4 separate regions of the Homo sapiens genome follow, and all the other regions are linked to region 4. The links are contacts of gene promoters, found by promoter capture Hi-C in human tissues and cell types (Jung and others, 2019). All regions are on one chromosome and are shown on one strand. The core of a region is centred on a gene start or on the middle of the fragment in contact, and the rest is flanking DNA. Distances in the headings are between cores, read along the strand shown. Region 1 overlaps XPO4 (exportin 4). Region 2 holds the start of XPO4 (exportin 4). Region 3 overlaps EEF1AKMT1 (EEF1A lysine methyltransferase 1). Region 4 holds the start of GJB6 (gap junction protein beta 6).

Evidence for each region. The method cuts DNA at HindIII sites, captures the fragments that hold promoters and counts their contacts. A contact is called where the count stands out against the background at its distance.
Region 1: a fragment that was not itself captured here is called in contact with the fragment with the promoter of GJB6 in region 4 in 3 of the 25 tissues and cell types used here (hippocampus, mesendoderm cells and thymus).
Region 2: a contact is called between the fragment with the promoter of XPO4 here and the fragment with the promoter of GJB6 in region 4, in 2 of the 25 tissues and cell types used here (IMR-90 fibroblasts and mesenchymal stem cells).
Region 3: a contact is called between a fragment that was not itself captured here and the fragment with the promoter of GJB6 in region 4, in 2 of the 25 tissues and cell types used here (H1 embryonic stem cells and mesendoderm cells).

What each region holds. Positions count from the first base shown.
Region 1 is chr13:20,816,832-20,819,832 of GRCh38, reverse strand. The region is part of intron 9 of XPO4 (exportin 4); the gene reads left to right. Among named protein-coding and RNA genes, the nearest start is that of EEF1AKMT1, 44 kb to the right of the region's middle. The HindIII fragment of the contact is 5,973 bases long and covers 1-3,001 here.
Region 2 is chr13:20,901,161-20,904,045 of GRCh38, reverse strand. It overlaps XPO4 (exportin 4), which reads left to right and starts at 1,300. Exons shown (of 23, transcript NM_022459.5): 1 at 1,300-1,376. The coding sequence starts at 1,308. RefSeq lists a silencer at 898-1,277 and an enhancer at 1,488-1,537. The HindIII fragment of the contact is 40,685 bases long and covers 1-2,885 here.
Region 3 is chr13:20,760,810-20,763,938 of GRCh38, reverse strand. The region is part of intron 1 of EEF1AKMT1 (EEF1A lysine methyltransferase 1); the gene reads left to right. Among named protein-coding and RNA genes, the nearest start is that of EEF1AKMT1, 12 kb to the left of the region's middle. The HindIII fragment of the contact is 7,304 bases long and covers 1-3,129 here.
Region 4 is chr13:20,231,031-20,234,221 of GRCh38, reverse strand. It overlaps GJB6 (gap junction protein beta 6), which reads left to right and starts at 1,903. Exons shown (of 5, transcript NM_001110219.3): 1 at 1,903-2,028; 2 at 2,717-2,840. The HindIII fragment of the contact is 5,298 bases long and covers 1-2,842 here.

The DNA of each region.
Region 1 (3,001 bases), core at 286-2,785, 590 kb before region 4:
TACAGCTAATACCAGAAATATAGGAACAAATCCAGCCAAACCAAATTGGACCTCTGGGACAGAAACCATTTCATCTTTTGTTTTCTTGGGCACCCAGTAATTGTAGTAATAGTACATAATACGTAGTTGTCCTGAGATGGAAAAGTATATAAAGACATGATCTTTTTTTTTTTGAGATGGAGTCTCGCTCTGTCGCCCAGGCTGGACTGCGATGGCACGGTCTTGGCTCACTGCAACCTCTGCCTCACAGGTTCAAGCGATTCTTCTGCATCAGCCTCCCGAGTAGCTGGGATTACAGGCATGCGCCATCACGCCCGGCTAATTTTTGTATTTTTAGTAGAGACGGGGTTTCACCATGTTGGCCAGGCTGGTCTCAAACTCCTGACCTCGCAGTCCACCCACCCCAGCCTCCCAAAGTGCTAGGATTACAGGTGTGAGCCACCGCGCCTGGCCAAGACATGATCTTTTAAGTAAAATTTGAAAAATTGAGGCATATTAAAGATATGAGTTTGGGAGTTAACATGGGATGAAAAGATGATGAACTTTTGAGGGAGACTGCACAGTTACAGGCCAGGCAGTCATGAAGAGCAAGAGTTCAAGCAAGCTGCTTCACTTTTTTTTGGAGCATGTTAGCTTATTGGTAAAGTCAGGGTATGAATTCCTTCTACTGCTTTATGACGTGGATTAACTGCATGAAAAGTACCTGTATAGGCCGGGCTCAGTGGCTCACGCCTGTAATCCCAGTACTTTGGGAGACTGAGGCAGGCGGATTGCCTGAGGTCAGGAGTTCGAGACCAGCCTGCCAAACATGGCAAAACCCCTTCTCTACTTAAAAATATAAAAAATTAGCCGGGCATGGTGGCGGGCGCCTGTAATCCCAGCTACTTGGGAGGCTGAAGCAGGAGGATCTCTTGAACCCGAGAGGCGGAGGTTGCAGTGACCCAAGATCACACCACTGCACTCCAGCCTGGGTGACAAGAACGAAACTCCATCTCAACAAAAAAACAAAGGGGAGGGGGAGGGGGACGTGTATAGTGTACAATAATTTATTACAAGCAATAACATGTAGAATAATTTTTTAAAATGAGCCTTTAAAATAATAGCTTTTATTGAAAACCTGTGTGCACTCTTACCACATAAGAACAACTGTTGAGTTTTGTTTGGTGCAAACTAATTATAATTCTAATTTTTTAAAATTATTTTTTAAATGATTTTTATAATTGTAATTTTGTGAAATATTGAAAGCTTCTTTTTCCAGTAGGAAAACAGGTTCCACATGTAAGACTTTGTTTTACTGTGAGAATACTTTTTTCAGAGCTGTGTTTGTTTAGGAATATATACAGATTATCATCTTTTTTAATAGCAATTCATGTCTTTGATGGTGGTAACGTTGTGTAGCAAGGGAAGAAGAGCATCTTCATAGGAAGAAGCATTCTTGATACCAGTGTGTGTTTTTGAAACCCATGTCATAAAGCCACCTTGCTGGGTGGCTTTAGCATGTGAGTGAAGAGACATATTTATGAGTACTCTGACTTGCAGTTAACTGAGAGTCTGTGTTCACAAAGAGCAATTCTGGTATTCAGCCAAGTTTCTCTGTGGCTGCAGAAGTTTCTTGATATTATTTGAGACTTTTTGGAGATAAGAATTTTTTCATTATACCCAGAAATCAAATTATTATCTATTGCTGAACTGAAGAGGTAAGAATGAATGTGGAGATGAAAAAGTATTGCCTTAAAGATTAAAATCCTGCTGGGCTTGGTGGCTCACGGCCGTACCTTGGGAAGCTGAGGTAGGCAGATCACCTGAGGTCGGGTGAGGAGACCAGCCTGGCCAACACATCGAAGCTCCGTCTCTACTAAAAATACAAAAATTAGCCAGGCATGGTGGCACACTCCTGTAATCCCAGCTACTGAGGAGGCTGAGACAGGAGAATTACTTGAACCCGGGAGGCAGAGGTTGCAGTGAGCTGAGATCATGCCACTGCACTCCAGCCTGGGTAATACAGCAAGGCTTTGTCTCAAAAAAAGATTAAAATTCTATCAATAATTGTTCATATTAATACAACAGCTGTTTTATAAAAGATTTATAATAGTAGATGCATTTGAATTGTTTCAGTGAAATTCAAGGAGAATATGACTAGAACTGTATACTCTAGTTTGTTTCTTGGTTTCTTTTATAATTAACCATTTTGAGTTCAGCCAAGTAGGTGAAGCTGTGCAGTATGTTGCTACAGGAACAGAGCAGCCTTCATAGCATTGAGGTATTTTGTATATGCATTTTGATGTATGTGTTGTGTATAAGGGCAATCGTGGTAAATAACAATTTATAAAGGAAGAACCTTACATCTAGTTTTAGTATATTTGTAGCCTAATCTCAAGACCAGCAGGACAAGGTAGTAAAGAAAAAGGTACTTGATAAAGTTTTTAGGAAGTTGATTATAGAATGTAATGCAATAAAATAAATTTGCAATTTGTCAAGTGAGTGAGTGTATTTAGAGGTCAGCATTCTTGATTCAGAATTTAATTTCTCTGGCTTGTTGGGTAATTACTTTGTAGTGAGGTTATGTGACAAAAAGGAAGCCATAAATTGAAGCCAAATTACAGATTGAGAAGTGGGGAGCATAAATTTTGGGATATCTCAGTGATAAGAGGGAAAACAATACTTATTCTCTGGATGGTTGTGTCCGTACAGTGTAACTGTGTAGTCTACCTTGCACCTTCACCCATGAAAGGATGGATTGTTTGAAGATCCTTGCCAACATCCCCACCAAACGGTTCTTGTAGCTATAAAAGAATAAACTGATGATACTGGAGAGAGCAAGCTGGCTGTCCAGCGCCCCCCACCCATCAAGCACATTCATTTCCTCTGCTTAAAAGATAGAATTAAATCCATGAGTATTTTTTAAAGCTTGCACATTAAAAGTATACTTTTTAGAAATAATAACAATAGTTTTAGCTCTACCAGGATATTTGGAAGAAAACTAGTTACTATTTTACCTTAA
Region 2 (2,885 bases), core at 51-2,550, 670 kb before region 4:
ACCACAGGCGCAAGACACCACACCGGGCTTTTTTTTTTTTTTTTTTTGGTAGAGACAGGGTCTCACGATGTTGCCCAGGCTGGTCTCGAACTCCTGAGCTAAAATGAGGCCTGCCTTGGCCTCCCAAAGTGCTGGGATTACAGGCATGAGCCACAGCGCCTGGCCGACAAAGCTCATCTTACTGCATTTGAGAAGCCAGGTAGTCAAGGTCAGGCTTTCCTGTCCCTGCTTTCTCCCTCTCCTATGTGAGCCAGCCCTTAAAGAGTGAAAACGGCAAGAGCCAAAGACGGGTTTTCCTCCTAGGGTCTCCTAGCGACCCGCTGCCCAGATACATTTGGATGATTGTCCTGCAGAAGGCCAAAGCCCTCCATTATGAAAACGAAGCGTTCGGCCGGGGGCGGTGGCTCACGCCTGTAATCCCAGAACTTTGGGAGACCGAGGCGGGCGGATCACCTGAGGTCAGGAGTTCGAGACCAGCCTGGCCAACATGGTGAAACTTCGTCTCTACTAAAAGTACAAAAATTAGCCGGGCGTGGTGGCGGGCGCCTGTAATCCCAGATACTCAGGAGGCTGAGGCAGGGGAATCGCTTGAACCCGGGAGACGGAGGTTGCAGTGAGCCGAAATAGGGCCATTGCACTCCATCCTGGGCGATAGAGTGAGACCCTGTCTCCAAAAAAAAAAAAAAAGAAAGAAAGAAAACGAAGCGTTCTATCCTGGAATGTTCTCCCATGGCAAGAAGGAACAGAGAAGCAGGAGACAGAGATACTTTGAAAGGAGGTGCGCTCTGAGGAGGGGAAAGCGGGAAGAGCGATTCCAAGTTTAGGAAATCCTGCACGGCGCTGGAGCGTGGAAGGGCAAGGAGGAGCCAGGGGAGGCGGTGTGCAGGGCTGAGAACGGAGGGAGCGAACTGGCGTCGTGGATCTGCGGGTCCCCGGGCGGGCTGTACTAGGGTAGTGGGGAGAGGGCCGGGGGCACCGCGAGGCCGGGGCGCCGGACACCACGCATGCGCGGGGCTGGGAGCTTAGCGGGGCGCGCGGCTGCAGCAGTCTGGGCAGACCGCCTCGGCCTCGCCCGGTGCCGGCTGCGGCCGCCCCCGCCCCAGCGCGGCGGCCGGGCTCACACTAGTCCCCTCCCAGCCACCCGGAACCCGGCAGCCCGGCCAGACCCGCCGAGGCCGCGACGCCGGTGTCGACAGCGGCTGCGACGGCCCTGGGAGCGCGTGAGGCTCCGGGGTCGCGGCGGCGATTGGCCGGCCGCGGCGCCCGCTCCCAGAATGCAGCGCATGGCGCGTCATTGAAGAGAGACCATGATGGCGGCGGCGCTGGGGCCCCCAGAAGTGATCGCTCAGCTGGAGAACGCGGCTAAAGTTCTGATGGTGAGGACGCCGCGCCCCTCAGACCCCGGGATTCGCGGGCCCCCGGTCGGCCCTGCCACTCCAGGCCTTGCTGCTCGCTGGGCTGGCGACTGGCAAGGGCCTGCAGGGAGCCTGGAAGTGGAGGAGGAGGTGGCGGTGGCGTGGCGCAGGATTCTTCAGCCTACTTTCCTCCTGCCGTCGTCCCCTCCTTCCAGGAGCTGTCCCCTTCCCCTGGCTGCCCAGCACCCCAGTCGGGCGTGGGAATATAGTGGTGTAGCAAAGAGAATTTCTTCACCTTACACCCTGCCCCACAGACTGGGTCGCAGAGCAAGGCGCCGGGAAGGAGTTGGGGTTATCCCCGCAGGGCTTCGGTAGGGGAAATTTGTAGGGCTGTGTGAGCGCTCTTGGGGAGTTGGTGTCGGGAGGGATTGGATGGCACAGCCTGGGTGCTGTTAGCAACCCTTGTTTCCTGTGCATTCGCATCCTCTAGCGCTTCCCTGACATGCAGCCACCTCTGGAGTAATTGCAGCCGGCAGCACGTGGAAGGGCCGGGCCGGCTGGAGGGAGGGAGGGGAATCGTTGAGACCAAGGTCATTGGGGCAAAACTTGGTCTAGTGCTAAGCTCCTTAAAGCTCCCGCGATTTGGAGAACTGAGTCTATGCTACTCTTTGACTTCATGCTTACACTACAATAAGCAGTTTGATGAGATTGTTTACTAAGGGAATTTGAGAAGGCCGAGTCAAAGGATAAAAGTATTACATGCAAGGAGGAGAAGTAAGGATAAACTACGTTCAGTTAGTAAACAGTGTTTCTATTTGCTGGCTCAGCTTTGTTTTTGCAAATTATGACTTCGGTGTTTGTAGATGTTTTGGGAAGTTAGAGGTTCATTTGATACCTGGATTGATTCAGACTTTCTAAGAATTGGATACAGCCAGCTTTGTTACCTTTTTGGACTTTTTTCCTTTTGGTTTGGTGTTAGGGTGTTTGAGCATCACATTTGAGAATATTCGAACTAATTCTAGCGTAGTTTGTAGTTCTAATATTTTACACCAGATATTTTTGTTTCTTTAGAAATCGAGAAGTCTAATAAAAGCAGGATTTACTTGCTTCATTATGAATATTAACTTAATGTACGTTTTGTCACAAAACAGACTAGTGAAGGTTTTCACACTTTTGCAAATTAAGCAGAAGTAACTAGCTAGTATTCCCCTTAATAAAAGATTCTTAAAAATCCCTGACATAGAGCGTTTTGTAAAATTCCTGAAATTTTCCTAGGAGCTAGGGGCTCCGTTTTCATTGGATTCTGGAAGGAGTATGCCACCCAAAACACGGCTGTAGTTCTTACACTGATCAGGTAAAATCAGTGTCCTTCGTCACTGGCTTAATATAAACTAGTATTTGTGTTTTCCAATATCTTCCCTCTTCCCTGGCAAAGCTGCTTTTATCCCCTATAAGGAGTAGGTGAGAAGAATAGTAGTAAGTACCGTTTATTGAGTGCTAGATATTGGGCTTGATGCTTTACATACTTTA
Region 3 (3,129 bases), core at 492-2,991, 530 kb before region 4:
AGAAATAATTGAGGACTGCTATAAACATCTCTATCCAGATAAATTTTAACAACTTAGATGAAGCAGACCAATTCGTTGAAACTACAAACTACGAGAACTCACCCCATATGAAACTGATAATGTGAATAGCCGTGTAAGTATTAAATTGAATTTGCAGTTAAAGGCCTCTCATACAAGAAATTTTCAGGCCAGGCATGGTGGCTCATGCCTGTAATCTCAGCAGTTTGGGAGACCTAGGCGGGCAGATCACCAGAGGTCAGGAGTTTGAGACTGGCCTGGCCAACATGGTGAAACTCCATCTCTACTAAAAATGCAAAAATTAGCCAGGGTGGGTGGTAGGCACCTGTAATCCCAGCTATTTGGGAGGCTGAGGCTGGAAAATCGCTTGAACCCAGGAGGCGGAGGTTGCCGTGAGCTGAGATCGAGCCATTGCACTCCAGCCTGGGCGACAATAGCAAAATTCTGTTTCAAAAAAAAAAAACAAAAATTTCGGGCCTTAAATGCTAGGGATGCTATAACAAAATACCGTAGACTGGGTGGCTAAAAGTAATGGCAGAAACAGCAATTACCTTTGCACCAACCTAGCATCTCCAGATATAATTACAATGAGGGTTAAGGCTTTAACATATAAATGGGGTGCAGGGTGGGAGGGGGGTGGTGTGTCAATTGAATCCATAGCACATGATTTCACTGAAAAAAATTACCAAATGTTTATTGCGTTAGCACTGATTGTACACAGTCTTTTCCAGAAAATAGAAGAGGAGACATTTCTAGTTTATTTGATGAGACCAATATTACCTTGTTACCAAAACCAAAGACAATACAAAGACCGAAAACAATAGACAAATATACCTCATGAAGATAGGTGACGAAATCCTCAGCAAAATATTAGTAAATATGATTTAGCAATACATAAGAAGAATCAGTTAAGTGGAACCTATTCCAGGAATGTGAGACTGGTTTAATAGATAATCAGTTTAATTTATATCATGAGGTTAAAGAAAAATCACATGATCGTATAAGTTGATATCAAAAAGTTATTTGAAAATTCAACACCCATTCATGATGAAACTTGGCAAACTACTAATAAAGGGAATGTCCTCATCTTAACATAGAACATCTACACCCTGGGTGTAGTGACTCACACCTGTAATCCCAGCACTTTCGGAGGCTGAGGCAGGAGGAACACTTGAGCTCAGGAGTTTGAGACCAGCCTGGGCACCAGAGTGGGACCCCATCTCTACAAAAAATAAAAATGTTAGCCGGGCATGGTGGCGCATGCCTGTAGTCCCAGCTGCTTGGGAGGCTGAGGTGGAAAGATCACTTGAGCCCAGAAGGTTGTGGCTGCATCATATTTAATGGTGAAAGATTGAATGCTTTCCCACTTAAAATCTGGGACAAGTGTAGGATATCTGCTCTTATCACTCCTATTCAGCTCACTAGAAGTCCTGGCCAGGCACGATGGTTCATGCCTGTAATCCCAGCACTTTGGGAGGCCGAGGTGGGCGGATCACTTGAGGTTAGGAGTTCGAAACTAGCCTGGCCAACATGTGAAACCCCATCTCTACTAAAAATGCAAAAAAATTTAGCTGGGCGTGGTGGCAGGTGCCTGTAATCCCAGCTACTGGGGATGCTGCTGAAGCAGGGAGAATCGCTTGAACCCAGGAGGTGGAGGTTGCAGTGAGCCAAGAATGCACCACTGCACTCCAGCCTGGGCAACAGAGCAAGACTCTGCCTCAAATTAAAAAAAAAAAAAAAAAAAAGACTGATGAAATACATCAAAGATGAACTAAATAAATGGAGAGATGTGCCATGTTTTATGGATTGGAAGACCCCGAAAAATAAAGGTTCTCGTTCTGTTACCCAGGCTGAAATACAGTGGTATGATCTTGGCTCACTGCATCCTATGCCTCCAGACTCAAGTGATCCTCCCACCACAGCCTCCCATGTAGCTGGGTCTACAGGCACATGCCATCACACTCAGCTAATTTTTAAAAACATTTTTGTAGAGACAAGGTCTCACTGTATTGCCCAGGCTGCTCCTAGGCTCAAGTGATCCTCCTGTCTCAGCCTCCCACATTCCACCTGAATTATACACTTTAAATAGATGAATTGTATGGTATATGAATTAGATCTCAATACAAATGTTTTAAAATTTGCACATTTCACTTCAATAGGCATTTCAAAAACAACTACATGACTGCAAAGAGAATCCTGACTTCTCTGGCCACAGTAAACCTCATAGTACAGGGATTCAGTTCTTCATTTGATGAAACCCTCTTATAATGTATCATCATGAAATAAATTTTTTGATGTCCTCAAAATAAACACACTCTAACCATAAAATCCAACATCATACTCTTGAGCATTTATCCAGAGAAATGAAAATGAAAATTCCTATACATTTTACAGGAATGTTCACAACAGCTCTATTTGTAATACCTTAAAATTGGAAACAACCCAAATGTTTTAGTGGGTGAATGGTTAAGTGTGGCCATACTATGGATTACTACTCAGCAATAAAAAGGAATAAACTATTGATACACAGAACAACCTGGGTAAATTTTAAACCATGCTGAGTGAAAATGACAATCTCAAGTTATATAATGTATGATTCCATTTATCTAAAGTGACAAAATTATTGAAACGGAGAACAAATGCTTTCCAGGGGTTAAGAATGGAGATTGAGGTGGGAGAGGATGGGAATGACTTTAAAAAGGTAGTACAACTCATCTCTTTGGTGCTGGAATATTCTGTCTCTTATCCATGGAAGTGTTTTCATGAATCTACACGTGATATCATTATATAAAACTATACACATGTGCATACGCCTGCAAATAAATGTGTGTAAAACTGGTGAACTGCACGAGCTCTGTGGATTGTACTGTTCATTTCCTGGTTTGACAATGCACTGTAGTTATATAAGTTACTACCATTGTGGAAAAATAGGTGGAAGGATACATGGGATGGACCTTCATTATTTTTGCACATTCCTGTGAATCTGTGATTATTTCAGAGTAGAAAGCTTAGGAATGAGAATTGGTGTAGAAAAATAGAAATATTTATGTCCAAATTATCAGATTCTTTTCCAAAAGATTATGCCAATTTAAATTGTTATCTAAATTAGAG
Region 4 (3,191 bases), core at 654-3,153:
AGTCCTAGAACAATTTCCACTGGTCCAGGATGTCAATGCTCAGACACAGTACTGCATGGAATCAGGTGCAGGATTGAGAACAGGGCATGCTTTAGAAAAAGCAAAAGCTATTTCCAGGACTATCTGCTATGCTGGTTCAGCTTTGCCAAGCAATATTCAAATACTCATGGAGCAGCACATACTATGAGCAAAGTACTTAGTATTGTAGAAATGCAAAAGAAGAAGAAGAGGAAGAAAAGCTTAAACTGTTTATAATCCCCAAAGAAGTTTACAATCTGCTTAGAAAAATTATTTTACTATGCAAACAGCTGAGCCTGGCTGAAGCATCTGTTTGGGAGAGGAATGGAGAGAAGACTGGGAAGTCCACAGTTAGATTGTGTGGGGCAGGACAGAGCACCCAAGATTTACCGCATAGGGCACATCTGGGCAGTGTGAGGATGTCTAACAAAAAAGCCTAGAGATGCTCGGCGCGGTGGCTCACGCCTGTAATCCCAGCACTTTGGGAGGCTGAGGCAGGTGGATCACCTGAGGTCAGGAGCTCCAGACCAGCCTGGCCAACATGGTGAAACCCAGCTCTACTAAAAATACAAAACCTAGCCAGGCATGGTGGTGCGGGCCTGTAATCCCAGCGACTCGGGAAGCTGAGGCAGGAGAATCACTTGAACCCGGGAGGCAGAGGTTGCAATGAGCTGAGATCACACCACCACACTCCAGCCTGGGCAACAGAGCCAGACTTAGTCAAAATAAATAAATAAATAAATAAATAAATAAATAAATAAATAAATTTAAAAAGCCTAGAGATTTCTGTGTCTCTCCACTCTCCAAGTTCAAGGCCATTTCAGGGGCCTCCCCAAAGTTTTTAAAACTTGACTTGGGCAAATTCTTTAAGAACCTTGTTCTCCTCAAATAAAATATTTTGGAAAGCGGATTTTTATGAAGTCTTGGCTCAAATTCCATGACCTTTAACAGACATCTTAATTGTTTCGTGGGAGAATATGACCCAACAAGTGGCATATGGTTTAGGTGGGGACGTTTAATTACCGAACAGTTTTGTAGAATAAGCAAGTCACACATCTTTTGTCCGATGCGTGACAGGTTTGAACCTGTAAAGCCAGGTGCCTAAATAGCTTCCAACGTTTCCACCCCACCAGCCCTTGCACCACTCCCTGTACTGGCCCTGAGCTTTCTAGTCTTGACTGAAAAGCGGGGAGGCAATGTGGTCTCTCCTGGTGCACTGTCCCGAGGAAGGCCTGCTCCGCTTCCCCGGAGGAGTCTTCAAAGGATGGAGGTAATTAATAAAAACAACCCCTGTACCTCCTCTAAGTGGTCATTAATTAATAAAGAACCTCCAGGCTCCTATAGGAGAGGTCTGTGCACCCCGCGGGCTATGAGAAGGCTGGATCACCCAGAAAGACTGAGGATGTGTCCTGGCAAAAACACAGCCTGCCCCTCACACTGCTCCCCACGGGTGCACTAGGGAGGAAGAGTTCCCTCGAGGGCCTGAGCAGGCGCCCCACACCTGCACCCGTGCAGAGGGGGCTGGGCCCGCCCTCTGCGCTCCCGAGGGAGAGCCCTACCCCCTGCATCCCCGGTACCCCGTTCCCTCCAAGGGCCGGAAAGAGGGCCCCGCGCACTGTGCACTTCTTAGGGGTCCCCCACCCTGCGCCCCCGCCACGGGAAAAAGGTCCCCGCTCTGCGCATCCGGCCCCGGAGGGACAGCCCCGGTCCTGCACTCCTTGCTCCTCAGGGGGACGGTCCGCGCCCAGCGGCTAGTGCGCCCCGGGTAGGTGGGGGCGGGGGGCTCGTCGAGTGACAGCGCTCGCCTCCCGCAGCCCGCCCGAGCCGCGTCAGGGCAGAGGCGGGGTGGGGCGCGGTTAAAAGGCGCAGCAGGTGGGAGCCGGGGCCTTCACCCGAAACCCGACGAGAGCCCGACAGCCGGCGGCGCCCGAGCCCGACCTGCCTGCCCAGCCGGAGCGAAGGGCGCCGCCCCGCGCAGAGCCCGCGCCAGGGCCGCCGGCCGCAGAGCAGGTAAGCGGGCGCGGACCGGCTGGGTCTTGCGGGGGGCGAGCGGGCGGTGCCACCTCGGCCCCCCAGCGGAGGAATTTCCTCCAAGAAAACAAAACAGGTGAGGTCGGCGGCTGGTCCCCACCTCGCCCCTGTCGCTCCTGTCTGGCACCGGATCAGAGCCGGCAGAGCGCGGCCGGGATGGGTGTCTGGCCGCACGTGGGGCGACCGGGCCCCCGATCTGCCTCTATCCGCACCCTCCTGTCCACGCGCCCCGGCCCCGGCCCGATGGCAGTGGGCGCCGCCCGCGCTGGACCCTCTCTCTGTACGCAGAGGAACGAGGATGGACTGGTTTGACTTTTACCCCAGCGTGGTCCCCTTTGACTTGTACAACAGGTTTTATGAAGGTTTCATATCGTGTGTCTAAGAGGCCAGAGTGAGGGCCGGTGCCCCTTTCCCCCGTTTCATTTGCTGCGTGTTGGATTTTCTAAGCTTTTGTGGGTCACCGGGGTGTCCCCTTGGATTTGGGGAGAAGAAAGCCAGGTCTAGGATGCGGGTTTCAGTTCAGACAAACCCTCAACTTGGGCCGATGCATAAGTCCCCGGAGAACCGCAGGGTATGGGCTGCGTGATGGGCTTCCGAGAAACTTGTGAAATGCTGATGACAATAGCGTGGACGACAGTAATTAAAAGTAATTGGCGACACATCTTAGTTAAAACGTGCAGGCACCAGAAGGCACTTCCTGTCGGTGAAGAAGACCTGTCTCCGGTGTCACGGGCATCCTGTGTTTTGCAAACGGGGCTGACCTCCCTTCCTGGGGAGCAGGAAGGGTCAGGGTGAGTGTGGCCTGCCCGCAGCTCTGCACTCCCGGAGGGGTTAGGGACCTGCAACCAGGCGGGGACACTGGCCCAGCGACCTCAGTGTCCCCTGGGTGGGCGTGCACTCTGTTTAGTGTCTGATTGAACGTAACCGTGCCGGGTTGTTCTTTTCCCTCAAGTAGACTTTATGCCATACAGCTATTTTCTTGCCCCAGTTCTAGCAGAATCTAACCAGTGTTCTAGAAGAAAATGTCCTGCCCCCATGCAGTCTCCTTAGAATTGCAGGGTGCTGCTCAGAACTGCTCCTGTGGAGAGCTTTGTCTGTTGTTTGGATCCAGCAGCGTCTTTGGGGGTGTTGCTTGAAGCTTG